Regions from separate parts of the Homo sapiens genome. Here region 2 is linked to region 1. Evidence: promoter capture Hi-C in 16 types of primary human blood cells and fetal thymus (Javierre and others, 2016). All regions are on one chromosome and are shown on one strand. Each heading gives the region's core, a stretch centred on a gene start or on the middle of the fragment in contact. The rest is flanking DNA. Distances are from core to core; before and after follow the strand shown.

Region 1 (6,326 bases), core at 3,038-5,537:
TCTTGGCTCAAGTAATCCTCCCACCTCAGCCTCCCAAGTAGCTGGGATTATAGGCTGGTGCCACCATGCTCAGGTAATTTTAAATTTTTTTGTAGAGGCAGGGTATCTCACTATGTTGCTTAGACTGGTCTTAAACTGTTGGCCTCAAGCAATCCTCCCACCTCAGCCTCCTAAAGTGCTGGGATTACAGGCCTGCAACTCCTTTAATACTCCCAAAAATCCCACACAGTATGTTCTACTACCCCATTTTACAGATAAGGAAACCGGAGTTCAGCAAGTTCAAGTGCCTTGCCCTTGTGTATTAGTCCATTTTCACGCTGCTGATAAAGACATACCCGAGACTGGGTAATTTATAAAAAGAGGTTTAATGCATTCGCATTTCCACATGGCTGAGGAGGCCTCACAATCATGGTGGAAGGCGAAAGGCCCGTCTTACATGGCAGCAGGCAAGAGAATCAGAGCCAAGCAAAAGGGGAAACCCCTTATAAAATCATCAGATCTCGTGAGACTTATTCACTATCACGAGAACAGTGTGGGGGAACCGCTCCCATGATTCAATTATCTCCCACCGAGTCCCTCCCACAACACATGGGCACTATGGGAGCTACAATTCAAAACGAGATTTGGGTGGGGACACAGCCAAACCATATCACCTTGGTTCCCATAGCTAGAATCAGTGGAGTAAGGATTCAAACCCACCAACTAAGCACTTTTATGAACTGAACTCATCAGAGTGGAACTGTGGCAGGAGGCTGTGACCCAGAGAGGTATGACTGCTTACCAAAAGATACTCAGTAATAGGCAGAATACACCAAGCTTGTCCAACCCGTGGCCTGCAGGCTGCACGCAGCCCAGGATGGCTTTGAATGAGGCCCAAACACAAATTCTTCAACTTTATTAAAACATTATGAGATTTTTGCACAAACCATTGTTTTTTGTTTTAGCTCATCAGCTATGGTTACTGTATTTTATGTGTGGCCCAAGACAATTCTTCCAACATGGCCCAGGGAAGCCAAAGGATTGGATACCCCTGAACTATACCCTAGGGTGGGGAGTGGCTAAGACCCCTAGGCCAGGGTCTTTCCCCCAGCTGAGGCCATAGTGCTTCCCCATGGCCAAGACAGTGAGGTATTTAAGAATGGAATTACTGGCTTAGAAGCCAAAGTTGACTGTAATATCTCCAACTCTGGCTCCTGTTTTGAAAACCAGAATTCTTTGGAAGTTAATGGAAAACTCAAAATAGCAGATTCTGCCTTTGGGGTGTTTGCAGAGGGCTTTGAAGTGGTCTCAAATTACTGACAAGTGAAGATCAGGTAGAGTTAACAAAGCAACCAATGTAGAAGCAGGTCTCAAGGGCAATTCACATTTATTTCCTGAGCATGCTGACTAAACATACTTCAAACACAGCAGAAGGTAAAGAGTCTGTTTTGTAAGTAAAGCCGTTTCTTGCCAACAGCGAATGGTGGTCCATGAAGAGTACCTTGAGCATCATCTTCAAGCTGAGGCTCCAGCTCTGGGCAAACAGCTGCTGGGTGGACCTGGTCCTTCTGGCCTGGATGGGGGCCTCCAAGGAACTACTTGTTCTCATACTTGTGCTTGATGTGTTTCCACAGCTTCTGCATTTTAAAGACAAGAGCCACAAACTTTGACCTTTGCCTCTCACATTTTACAACTACTCCCACTGCCCTGGTCTCTAAAATGAGCTTGGGGGAAACACATGCCATGTCCTGATTAAAAAGATACACTTGTGGTGGGCAAACTCGAAGCAATCCTATGCTTGATGCACATTTTTTTTTTGAGACGGAGACTCGCTCTATCGCCCAGGCTGGAGTGTAGTGGCGCAATCTCGGCTCACTGCAACCTCAGCCTCTTGGGTTCGAGCGATTCTCCTGCCTCAGCTTCAAGAGCAGCTGGGAATACAGGTATGCGCTACCCGGCTAATTTTTGTATTTTTAGTAGAGATGGGGTTTCGCCATGTTGGCCAAGCTGGTCTCAAACTCCTGACCTCAAGTGATCTGCCTGCCTTGGCCTCCCAAAGCGCTGGGATGACAGGTGTGAGCCACCGCGCCGAGCCTTCATGCATAATTCTTGGCATTTATAAAATACTATGATGCTTTCAATCACCAGGTGAAGTAAGTGGAAAGGGGTGATCTTAATTTCACAGGAAATTCAGTTTGAGATTGAGGGAAGTGCCCCAAAACACACAATTATTAAGGAAAACAGCCTGGAAGATGTCTCAGTTCTTCAACTCCCAGGTATTACTGAAGAGATTATAAGTGCGTAGTCCCAAAATATTTCACCATGAGCCATTTAAGACATTTCCTGGGACCTAAATTGGCTGAAATTCTCATTCCCAGAAGCACAAGAGGTTGAGCACAGTGGCTCACGCCTGTAATCCCAGTACTTTAGAAGGCTAAGGCAGGAGGACTGCCTGAGCTCAGGAATTCAAGACCAGCCTGGGCAACATGGTGAAACCCCATCTCTACAAAAAATACAAAAATTAGCTGGGCGTGGTGGCGCATGCCTGTGGTCCCAGCTACTCAGGAGGCTGAGGTGGGAAGATCACTTGAACCCAGGAGGTCAAGGCTGCAGTGAGCTGTGATCATGCCACTGCACTCCAACCTGGGCGACAGAGTGAGATCCTGTCTCAAAAAAACAAAACAAAACAAAAAAAAGCACAAGGAAAATGGGTGAGTTATAACAACATACTTGGATGTCTCTCCAGATCAATGGGAGTGGTTAACAGAACCACTTGCAAGAGATGGGACAGTAGCAATGCTTTCATATGGGGCAGGAAGTTGCACTGGTCACAGGCAGCATAGCACTAGTGGACAGTGCCTTCCCGGGCTGCAGAGTCAGACAGTCTCAAATTAAAAACACAAGTGAGTGGTGGAACAGGGCTATATGTATAAGGCCTACTCCAGCACAGTCATAATTTAGCGATATAAAGCATGCACTGCACCTAGCACAGTGCATGATACATAAAAGTCAAAAATGTGTTGCGATTCCTACCTCATGCTTCCACTTTCTCCTGAGGAATGTAAGCAATGATTATTTTTCAGTGGTACCACCTACCAGGCATGTGGCACCCTGCCTGCATCTCATGTAATCCTCACAATCGTGCTCAGGTTACTATTAATATCTCCATCTCACAGTTAAAACGGAGTTCAGAGAAGAAACTTGCTCAACTTAATGCCACAGTTAAGTGACAAGGACCAGTGTTCCTATCCAAGGCTTTCTGATTTCATAGCCCCCACTCTCAACCATTAATACCAACTGTCTACGTGGGAAGCCTTGGGGACCAGAAGCGCCGTCTGAAACTTCAGCCACGGCGTCTAAGGTGTCTAACGTCCTTTTCACGACCGTCGCCTGCTCAAATCTGCCCTTGAAACTCTGAGAGACAGGGGTCCCGTTTCTGGCCCTGACTTGCCCCTGGCTTCCTGTGCAGCTAGTAAGTCCTTTGCTCTCACTAGCCTTTAGTTTTTGCTTCTGATAATGGGCAAGTGGGTATGTAGGGTGGCACACAGCAATACTTACAACCCCTGCAAAATGAAATATATTAACCTCGCTTAACGTTTTAGAATTCACATCAAGCCAAGGGGACAGACGGCGGACTCGAGACAGAAGACGCCGACGGTTTACCCCTTACCCCCTTCCTGGTAAAAGTATACTGAGTCCCATCCCACCTCTACTCCACTGTCACCCCTCAGGCGGGTCCAAGGTCAGGGATGGCACAGGCCCTCACCCCCTCGTTGATGTGGTCGTAGATAGCGTCCGCGCCTTGATCGAAGGCGCGCTCGAAGAACATGACGCCCACGATGATGGTGAGGGCGAAGGTGGAGGTCCTGCGGAACAGCAGGGAGTACAATTTCGAAGTCAACGTCGCGGCCGCCATGTTTCTTCACAGTCCAACTCGCGCCACCGCGCCTGCGCTGGGGCCGACCTCGTTCCCCAAAGGCCCTAGACGTGCAACACTTTATGGGATTTGTAGTTCCTCTGAATCTCAGCCTTCGTGTTTTGAACCACAGAGGTATTCCTATCCTGGGAATGAGGAAAAAAACTCAAAAGGTTCATATCAGGACAGCCCAGATAATCTGATAAGATTTATTACCCAATTTTTCTTCTCCAGAATTCCTGGCTGTTAGAATATGTCAAACTACAACTCCCAGAAGCCCTCGCGCGCCATCACCTTCTCCCCGCCCTCCGCCCAGTCCCGGCTTAGATTCCCAAAGCTCTCTGGGAAGGGCGAACTGATGGCCAAGGCGAGACTACGAATCCCAGCAAGCAGTACGCGACGCGAGGACGCAGGAGGAGGAGCCCGGAGCTGCAGCCACCGGGGAGCCAGGTACCTTCCGCGAGACGTCGAGGGGCGAGTCCTAGTCTCTTTTCTCCGCACTGGAAGACTTGAACACTTCCTTCTCTGTGCGTACGCCCTGCGGCGGGACGCACCATTTCTTGGGATAGGGTGTGGATAGAGGGGCGAGGGCAGCTGGGTTCCCGAGACCCTGGCTCAACTCTTCGCCTTGTCCCCTGCACCAGCCCCAAGTCTAGGCCAGGAGCTGGAGCCTGCGGCAAAAGTCTTGTCCTGGAGGTTAAACCCTTCACCCTGGATTAAGGGCAGGGACGGATCTGCCCTGCTTCCTGTTCCTCTCACCCCTGGGCTTCGCACCGGGCAACCCTGGTTTGGAAGGCTGGAGACTTGGAACCTGCTTGGGATTGAAAAGAGCAAGGGCTTTGGAGTACCTGGGGCATTCAACAGATGTTTTCCCAGCGCCTGTTCTGGTCCCTGCTCTGGGGACCCAGCAGTGAACAAAGTCCTTGCTCTCACAGAGCGCTCAATCTACGGAGTGGGCGGGTGGGGAGATGCAGTACAGCAAACAGATAGTGCTTTGGTTGACTGGAGAGGCAGTGGTGGTGACATTGCACCCTGGGTAGCTGCTCTGGGGGGTGACACTTGACTAGAGACCTGAATGAATAGTAGAGTTGAACAGGAAAACGTTGGTGCAAAGGCCTTGAGGCAGCTACAGTCCTGGGATGTTTGAGGGAAAGAAGTAGAGTGGACTGTGAAGAGGTTGACTCCGGTCAGCTCATGTCTGGCCTTGGAACCCACCTTACGGAGTCTTGTTTTCTTTGGTTTTTGTTTTTAGAGACAGGGTCTCACTGTGTTGCCCAGGCTGGTCTCCAACTCCTGGGCTCAAGCAATCTTCCTGCCTCGCCCCCCAAGGTGCGTGAGCCACCGCGTCTGGCCAAGGAGTCTTGTCTTTTTCTAGTTGCACTAGGAGGCCATTGAAGGGTTTTCAGGAGAAATGCGACAAGATTTAATGTGCACTTTAATGTCATCATCCTGGCTGGTCTATGGAGAGTGGACCGCAAGGGGGAAGTTATTGTAGTAGATCATTTGAGGGAAGATGGGTGGTTATTTATTTGAGATGGAGTCTCGGTCTGTCGTCCAGACTGGAGTGTAGTGGTGCTATCTCGGCTTACTGCAACCTCCGCCTCCCGGGTTCAAGTGATTCTCCTGCTTCAGCCTCCCGAGTGGCTGGGATTACAGGCGCCTGCCACCATGCCTGGCTAATTTTTTTTTTTAGTAGAGACAGGGTTTCACCATGTTGGCCAGGCTAGTCTCAAACTCCTGACTTCAGGTGATCCTCCCATCTTGGCCTCCCAAAGTGCTGGGATTACAGGCGTGAGCCACCATGCCCGGCCTGATGGGTGGTAATTTAGGTTAGGGTGTGGAGCAGGGCAGTGATCAGATTTGGGATGTAATTTGGGAGGGAGGGCAGACAGAGCAAGCTAGCAGATGTGTGTAGGGTGCACAGGAAAGAGGAATTGAGGAGGATATCTAAGTTTTTTTTGTTTTTTGTTTTTTGTTTTTTTTTGAGACAGAGTCTCACTCTGTGCGGCTGGAGTGCAGTGGCACAATCTTGGCTCACTGCAACCTCTGCCACCCATGTTCAAGCAATTCTCATGCCTCAGCCTACTGAATAGCTGGGATTACAAGCGGATGCCAACACGCCCAGCTCATTTTTGTATTTTTAGTAGAGACAAGGTTTCACCATGTTGGCCAGGCTGGTCTTGAACTCCTGGCCTCAAGTGATCCGCCTGCCACGGTCTCCCAAAGTGCCGGGATTACAGGTGTGAGCCACCGCGTCCAGCTGACATCTAAGTTTTGACCTCAACAATTTAAAATCAACAGAATGATCTTAAGTTCTGTTTTGGCCACATCAGTTTGAGCTAGCCAACAGACATCAAGTGGAGGTGTCTAGAGGCAAATGAGGACATGGATCTGTAGTTTAGAGGAGAGGTATGAGCCTGAGAAGAGTCAT
Region 2 (5,963 bases), core at 180-2,679, 820 kb before region 1:
ATTTTTGTATTTTTGGTAGAGATGGGTTTTCGCCATGTTGGCCAGGCTGGTCTCAAACTCCTGATCTCAGGTGATCCGCCTGCCTCAGCCTCTCAAAGTGCTGGGATTACAGGTGTGAGCGACCGTGCCCGGCTTCATCTCATTTTTAACTGTGGAATTGCTGGGTTTTAAATTTTAGCTTTAAATTAGATAGTGCAAGTCACATAGTTCAAAACAAGTATTCACCAGTGCTTAACGTCTGTCTCTGTGTAAGTTCTAAGACCAAGTCCTTGGGCCAGGTCACATTCACAAGAGCCTCAAATTTAAACTTTTGAGATCATCTTCGAACGAAATTTGGAATTTGGAAAAAGGGAGAAACGTTTAAAAAAAAAAAAACCTCTTAAAATTGCATCTACTTCCAGACTGCACCATCTCAAGGTGATGTGACTATTTGTATAAATCTTGGAATTATTATTTGAGGAACACTTACAGAATTTATGTGTACAAATTAAAAGCTCGAATATGTTGAATGTACATTTAATTTTATTTATTTATTTATTTTTGAGATGGAGTCTCACTCTGTCGCCCAGGCTGGAGTGCAGTGGCAAGATCTCGGCTCACTGCAACCTCTGCCTCCCAGGTTCAAGCGATTCTCCTGCGTCAGCCTCCCGAGTAGCTGGGATTACAGGCGTGTGCCACCATGGCCAGCTAATTTTTGTATTTTTAGCAGAGACGGGGTTTCACTATATTGGTCACACTGGTCTCGAACTCCTGACCTCAGATGATCCGCCTGTCTTGGCCTCCCAAAGTGCTGGGATTACAGGCGTGCGCCACCGCTCCCAGCCTTGAATGTACATTTTAAATATACCACGAGTCCACCACTAAGGCTCAGAAAATATAAGTGGCCTCTAGGATCTCTATACCTCCGCGAGGAAAAATGTCTTCCTTTTTTCTATTTTAGCCGCATAACCGCGAATGAACCAAAGAGAACCCGAAGCCGGTGGGAACTCAGCGCAGTCTCACCCTGCCCCTCGGGAACCGCTTCTCAGCAGCGGCAGCCGAAGTCTGACGACGCTTAGCAACCGTTACCTTGACAACGCAATCCTATCGCGCACCATGGAGTGCGGCGCCCCTCTGCATCCCAGAAGGCACCGCGCTGTCCCTAAGCCTTCCGCCCCTCTCCGTCCCAACATGCAACGAGGCTCACAGTCAATGAATCGTCATCAGGGTGATTACAGAAAAGCCTGTATATCCACGTTTGTTTTAACACTTAAAGTGTTTGTAACCATTGTGAGCGGGAAAGATCTGGAAAGAGTGTTCTCAGTGATTTTTTTCAGACTATAGTTTTAAATCTTGAGGAGGAAATCCCCATCTTTCCCTGGACTTGTACAGGCATCTCATTGGGCAGCCCGCACAAACAGACAGCGTGGGGTGGGGAGGGTCCTCGGGGTCCTTGGCAGGGCACGTGCGGGAGGAAGTGGAGCTCCCTGTACGCGCGGCCCTAGTCGGCTCCTCAACGTGGAGCGATGGGAGGCCTTGAGAAGAAGAAGGTGATTGGGAAAGACGGTGGGGATTCCCGAGGGGTGGGGTGCGGGGGCGGCAGAGCATGGGGTCGACTCTTTTCCCGGGCTCCGTCTCGTGGAGACTGGAAAGACGGGATCGACGTGACCGTAATCAGCTGCGAGAAGGGGTCCGAGAATGGACAAGGATGGCAGTATTCGTTTAGTGAAATCCGAGAACGAACTCCAGAGTTCTTTCTGTGGAGAGGGCTGTGAAAGAGAGTTGAACTTACCAAGCGTAGCTTCATTCCAAAAGCAGGCCGAGCCGTGGGACCACTATTTACCGAAAGGGTGATAAACATTACGTAGAGCTCACCGTTACTGCACCGTTACATTAGTTGGTTAGTGTTGTCTTGGAAGTTCTCTTCGAGGCATAACATTTCGGCTGAAATGGGAAAGATCAGAACGTCTTGGATGGGTTCTGGGGCATGGGAGTGCTTAGCGAGCAGGCCTGACAAGGGAAACCAAGTGCCAAGATCAGTAGGCAGGGAAGGCTTGCTGTGTGTAAGGAGTTGGAAGGACATTAGGATGACTCGCATGTAAACCAAGAAAAGAATGGCATCTGATAAGATTGGGGTTGGACACGTACTGTATCGTGCAAGGCCTGTAAGCTTGGATTTTATTCTAAGTGCAGTAGGAATAGTGTAGAGCTTGGATTTTATTCTACGTGCAGTAGGAAAAAAAGGAGGAGTAACACGATTAGAGTTTTTCAGGGAGTTCTTGTGGCTGTATGGAGAATCGGCCCAGTGACATGAAAAGACTGGGAAGGGAATGGGAATGAGGAATATATAGTTGGCTTAAGTGTTTCTTTCAGAGTGAAAGTTTCTATTGCCAGTGTTCTTAACCCAACACACTACATTGAGTATCCAGTGCTAGCCATCGGAACTGCAAAGATACAAGATGGAAAACCTGCCCTTGAGTTGCAGATGTAGATATGTAACAAAATCGTTACAGTTTTTAAAAGCTGGGTTTCAGAGCCAGAATCAACAAAGATGAGTCTTTGTTGTGGGAAGGATTGTCTTGTGTGTAGTAGGATATTTGGCAACATCCCTGATCCTTTACCTACTGGATACCAGTAGCACCCAGCAACCAAAAATGTCTCCAAACATTGCTGAACTCTCCTCCCCCCAGCACATACCCAGGGAGTACCCCATTGAGAACTATTTATTCCCTTAACATTTATAAGGATAAGCATGGTGACAGAGATAAGTGTGGCATAAGGTAATGGAAAACGCTATAAATGAAAACTCAACTTCTTAAGGCAGTCTGAAACTCATCTTTATACCTCCAAGACTTAGCATGGGCCTAATACCTAATAGACAATTAATGTCTAAAGGAAAGAATGAATGAAGGGTATGTTTCATGACTATGATGTTATTAGTAAACGTACCTGTGGGAGACTAACAGGTTTGTCTCTTTAGAGCTGAACCTAGCCAAAGAGGCCCCTGCTGTCTTAGTCCAGAGGAAGATCTTGTTTGGAAACGACATGCTTGTTAGCTTGCAGGGTATTTGTTACAGTGCACTGATTGTCTCTATCGAGGGATACAGAAGTGTGAGGGATACAGAAATGTGGGTGTGAGGCAGCATCTTAGCACCACAGGCATCCAGATGGTTATACAAGACAATAGGCTTCTTAGGGGCAGGTAGAGACCAGGCTTTTTGTCTTTATTGCCTTCATAGCATCTAGCTTAGTGCTTTGACCATAATAGAGGACCTGTTATTGTCTGTTGAATGAATGAATGAGGAAGGGGAGAAGCTGTGTGGCTTAGAGCATGCTTTTTCAGCCAGGGTAATACCACCCTCAAGGGAACAAAATTGGTTGAGGGGCAGTATCTTAGCTATTACAATGGTTGTGGCTCCCCAAGGACTACATTACATAAACAGACCTACAGTATATCTCTGGTATTAACATTTTATGGGGCATAGGGAAGAAAGGGTGATGGGTGAGGGAGGAAGGGGGTGTCTAATAAGTCTCCTGGTAGTGGTGAAGAGGTTATAATGAGGAAGAAAAGAAGGGGAAAAGATTAGGAACACTGGCTTAGCTATTAGGCATTCAGGTACTGGACTCAGACCTGAGTTTGAATCCCAGCCCCAACTCTTAAAAAGCTGTGTGCTTTTTAAGAGTTGCATGGGTTATTTTACGAGCCCGTTTTCTCCTATGTGAAATGGACGTTCGGACAGCACCTACATCACAGGGTTATGGGAATTAAATGAAATGTGTGAAAATCACTAATTGTAATGGCCAACATTTAGAGCTAGTGCTAAGCACTTGGCACAGCACCCTATCCGTAGCAGCCTCGCAGCCCTCAGCATCATGCAGATGTATGTGTTCCCTATGCTGACAGCCGCAAGGATGGTACAGGAGAGCTCATCCAGGCAGGTCGGCTCCTTCCCTGCAGTGTTTCCTCTCCTAGACTCATCTCAGCCACTTATCCAGAGTGATAGTTGCCTCTGGAACTAGGCATGCCCAGAGTTTGATGTCAGTCACTACAATCATTGCTAATGGAGAATTGTTTTTTTCCTCTCCCAGTATGAACGAGGCTCGGCCACCAACTACATCACCCGGAACAAAGCCCGGAAGAAGCTCCAGCTGAGCTTGGCTGACTTTAGGTGAATATAGAGGGACCGTGGGAAGCCCGGGCAGTGAATTGCACATTGAAAACTCAGCTGCATCCCTGTCTTACCTGAGTTGCCATACCCATTCTGGGGTTCTGGTATTCCTTCTCTTTCTCACCGCCCTTGCTTTAGTGAGTTGTGTTTGCTAGGTGTGGTCCAAGGGAAAATGGAGGAGAACTGAACTGGATTGTCAGGATGGGCTAGCTGGGCTGGGATGGGCTGGGCTGGGTCCCTGCCATCCATCCCCTCCTATCTGGTAGAAGAGACCCCTGATCCTGCAACTAGGGGTTCTCATTCCTCATAGAGTCAAAATAAGACTTCACTGTGGCCTGTGGGCCCTGCCCTCTGGCGGTCCCTGGCCTTTGTGGCTCACCTGGCCCACTTTTTTTTTTTTTTTCCCCGGAGACAGAGTCTCACTCTGTTGGCCAGGCTGGAGTGCATTGGCGTGATCTCAGCTCACTGCAACCTCCACCTCCCAGGTTCAAGCGATTCTCCTGCCTCAGCCTCCCGAGTAGCTAGGATTACAGTTGCTGGCGACCGTGCCTGGCTAATGTTTGTATTTTTTTTTTAGTAGAGATGGGATTTCACCATGTTGGCCAGGCTGGTCTCCAGTTCATGACCTCAGGTGATCCTCCTGCCTCAGCCTTCCAAAGTGCTGGGATTACAGATGTGAGCCATCACGCCTAGCCACCTGGTCCACTTTTATTCCTTCAAACACACCAGCTGTTTCCAGCCTTCTGGACTTTGTCTCTTTTGTTAGGATGCTTCTCTCCTTTTTATGGCTGAAATGTTGATATCTCAGAAAGGCCTTTCTTAACTCCCCTAGAGACTCGCAAGTCTGCGTTTTTGTTTTATGATTGTGACTGTCAGACTCATGTACTAGGATGTGAGGTCTCTAAGGGCAGGGACCCCATGTTCCCCATTTACTGTTGTTTTCCAGGCCCAGCTGTGGCCAGTGCTCCCCACCTTTACCCACATAACTGACATAACAGATGGCCTCTGTCTTCCAGGCGGCTGTGCATTCTGAAGGGCATTTATCCCCATGAACCCAAACACAAGAAGAAGGTTAACAAGGGTTCTACAGCAGCCCGAACGTTTTACCTTATCAAAGACATCAGGTTTCTCCTCCACGAACCCATTGTCAACAAGTTCCGTGAATACAAGGTGAGGTCTGGGCTCTAGGGTCTGTCAGGTTCTCATCGCAGCTCTGTGACCCACTAACTAACTGTGACCTTGGGCAGATTGCCTACCCTCTCTGAGTAAGCCTATACAGAGGGCAGGGTGAGCCTCAACAGAAGTACTTGGAGGGAAGAGGTCGGTTAGTTTGGAGGACCTGGCCCCAAAACAGGACTCCGTTGCATTTTTCTGGGTGTCTCAGTGTCACACACAGACCCACAGCTTGTTTCATGCTGATATAGTCTGGTGTTGGCAATGGAGGCCAGCCTTTCTCATCCTGTCAGTGTCAGGTCACTTGGCTTCTGTTCTCAGTTGAAAAACGGAGCTGCTTTGCTGTGCCATCCTCCCATGTAAACGTGTGGAGTTGGGACATCTGTGCATTGTCAAAAAGGGTGCCTGGTCTAGCTCTGCTGGTTAACACACCAGGCTTGGTGCTCCTTGGAGTTGGCTCTTTTGCTCATCCTGGGCAGAGGGGTCAGTGACACAGGCACATAGCCGTGGCCAGCTTCAGGAGGCATGAGAGTCCTTCTGCCCTGCGTTTCCATCTTCCATGGAAGAAGTTGTCCAGGAGACCTGAGCCTCAGCATTGAGGTGTTTTCTTTCTTTCTTCCAGGTGTTCGTCCGGAAGCTCCG

Evidence for each region. The method cuts DNA at HindIII sites, captures the fragments that hold promoters and counts their contacts. A CHiCAGO score of 5 or more calls a contact.
Region 2: the fragment with the promoter of PES1 here is called in contact with the fragment with the promoter of ZMAT5 in region 1 in 3 of 17 cell types (fetal thymus, non-activated CD4 T cells and total CD4 T cells); the score reaches 7.1 in fetal thymus.

The regions. Positions count from the first base shown.
Region 1 is chr22:29,764,968-29,771,293 of GRCh38, reverse strand. ZMAT5 (zinc finger matrin-type 5) reads left to right here and starts at 4,287. Exons shown (of 6, transcript NM_001003692.2): 1 at 4,287-4,422. UQCR10 (ubiquinol-cytochrome c reductase, complex III subunit X) reads right to left here and starts at 3,925. Exons shown (of 2, transcript NM_013387.4): 1 at 3,746-3,925; 2 at 881-1,616. The coding sequence starts at 3,895. The coding sequence ends at 1,575. RefSeq lists enhancers at 3,794-3,843, 3,753-4,402, 4,204-4,433, 4,403-5,052. The HindIII fragment of the contact is 8,045 bases long and covers 819-6,326 here.
Region 2 is chr22:30,587,376-30,593,338 of GRCh38, reverse strand. PES1 (pescadillo ribosomal biogenesis factor 1) reads left to right here and starts at 1,429. Exons shown (of 15, transcript NM_014303.4): 1 at 1,429-1,529; 2 at 4,069-4,148; 3 at 5,165-5,318; 4 at 5,944-5,963. The coding sequence starts at 1,506. RefSeq lists enhancers at 807-886, 1,107-1,406, 886-1,601, 5,495-5,963. The HindIII fragment of the contact is 19,848 bases long and covers 1-2,151 here.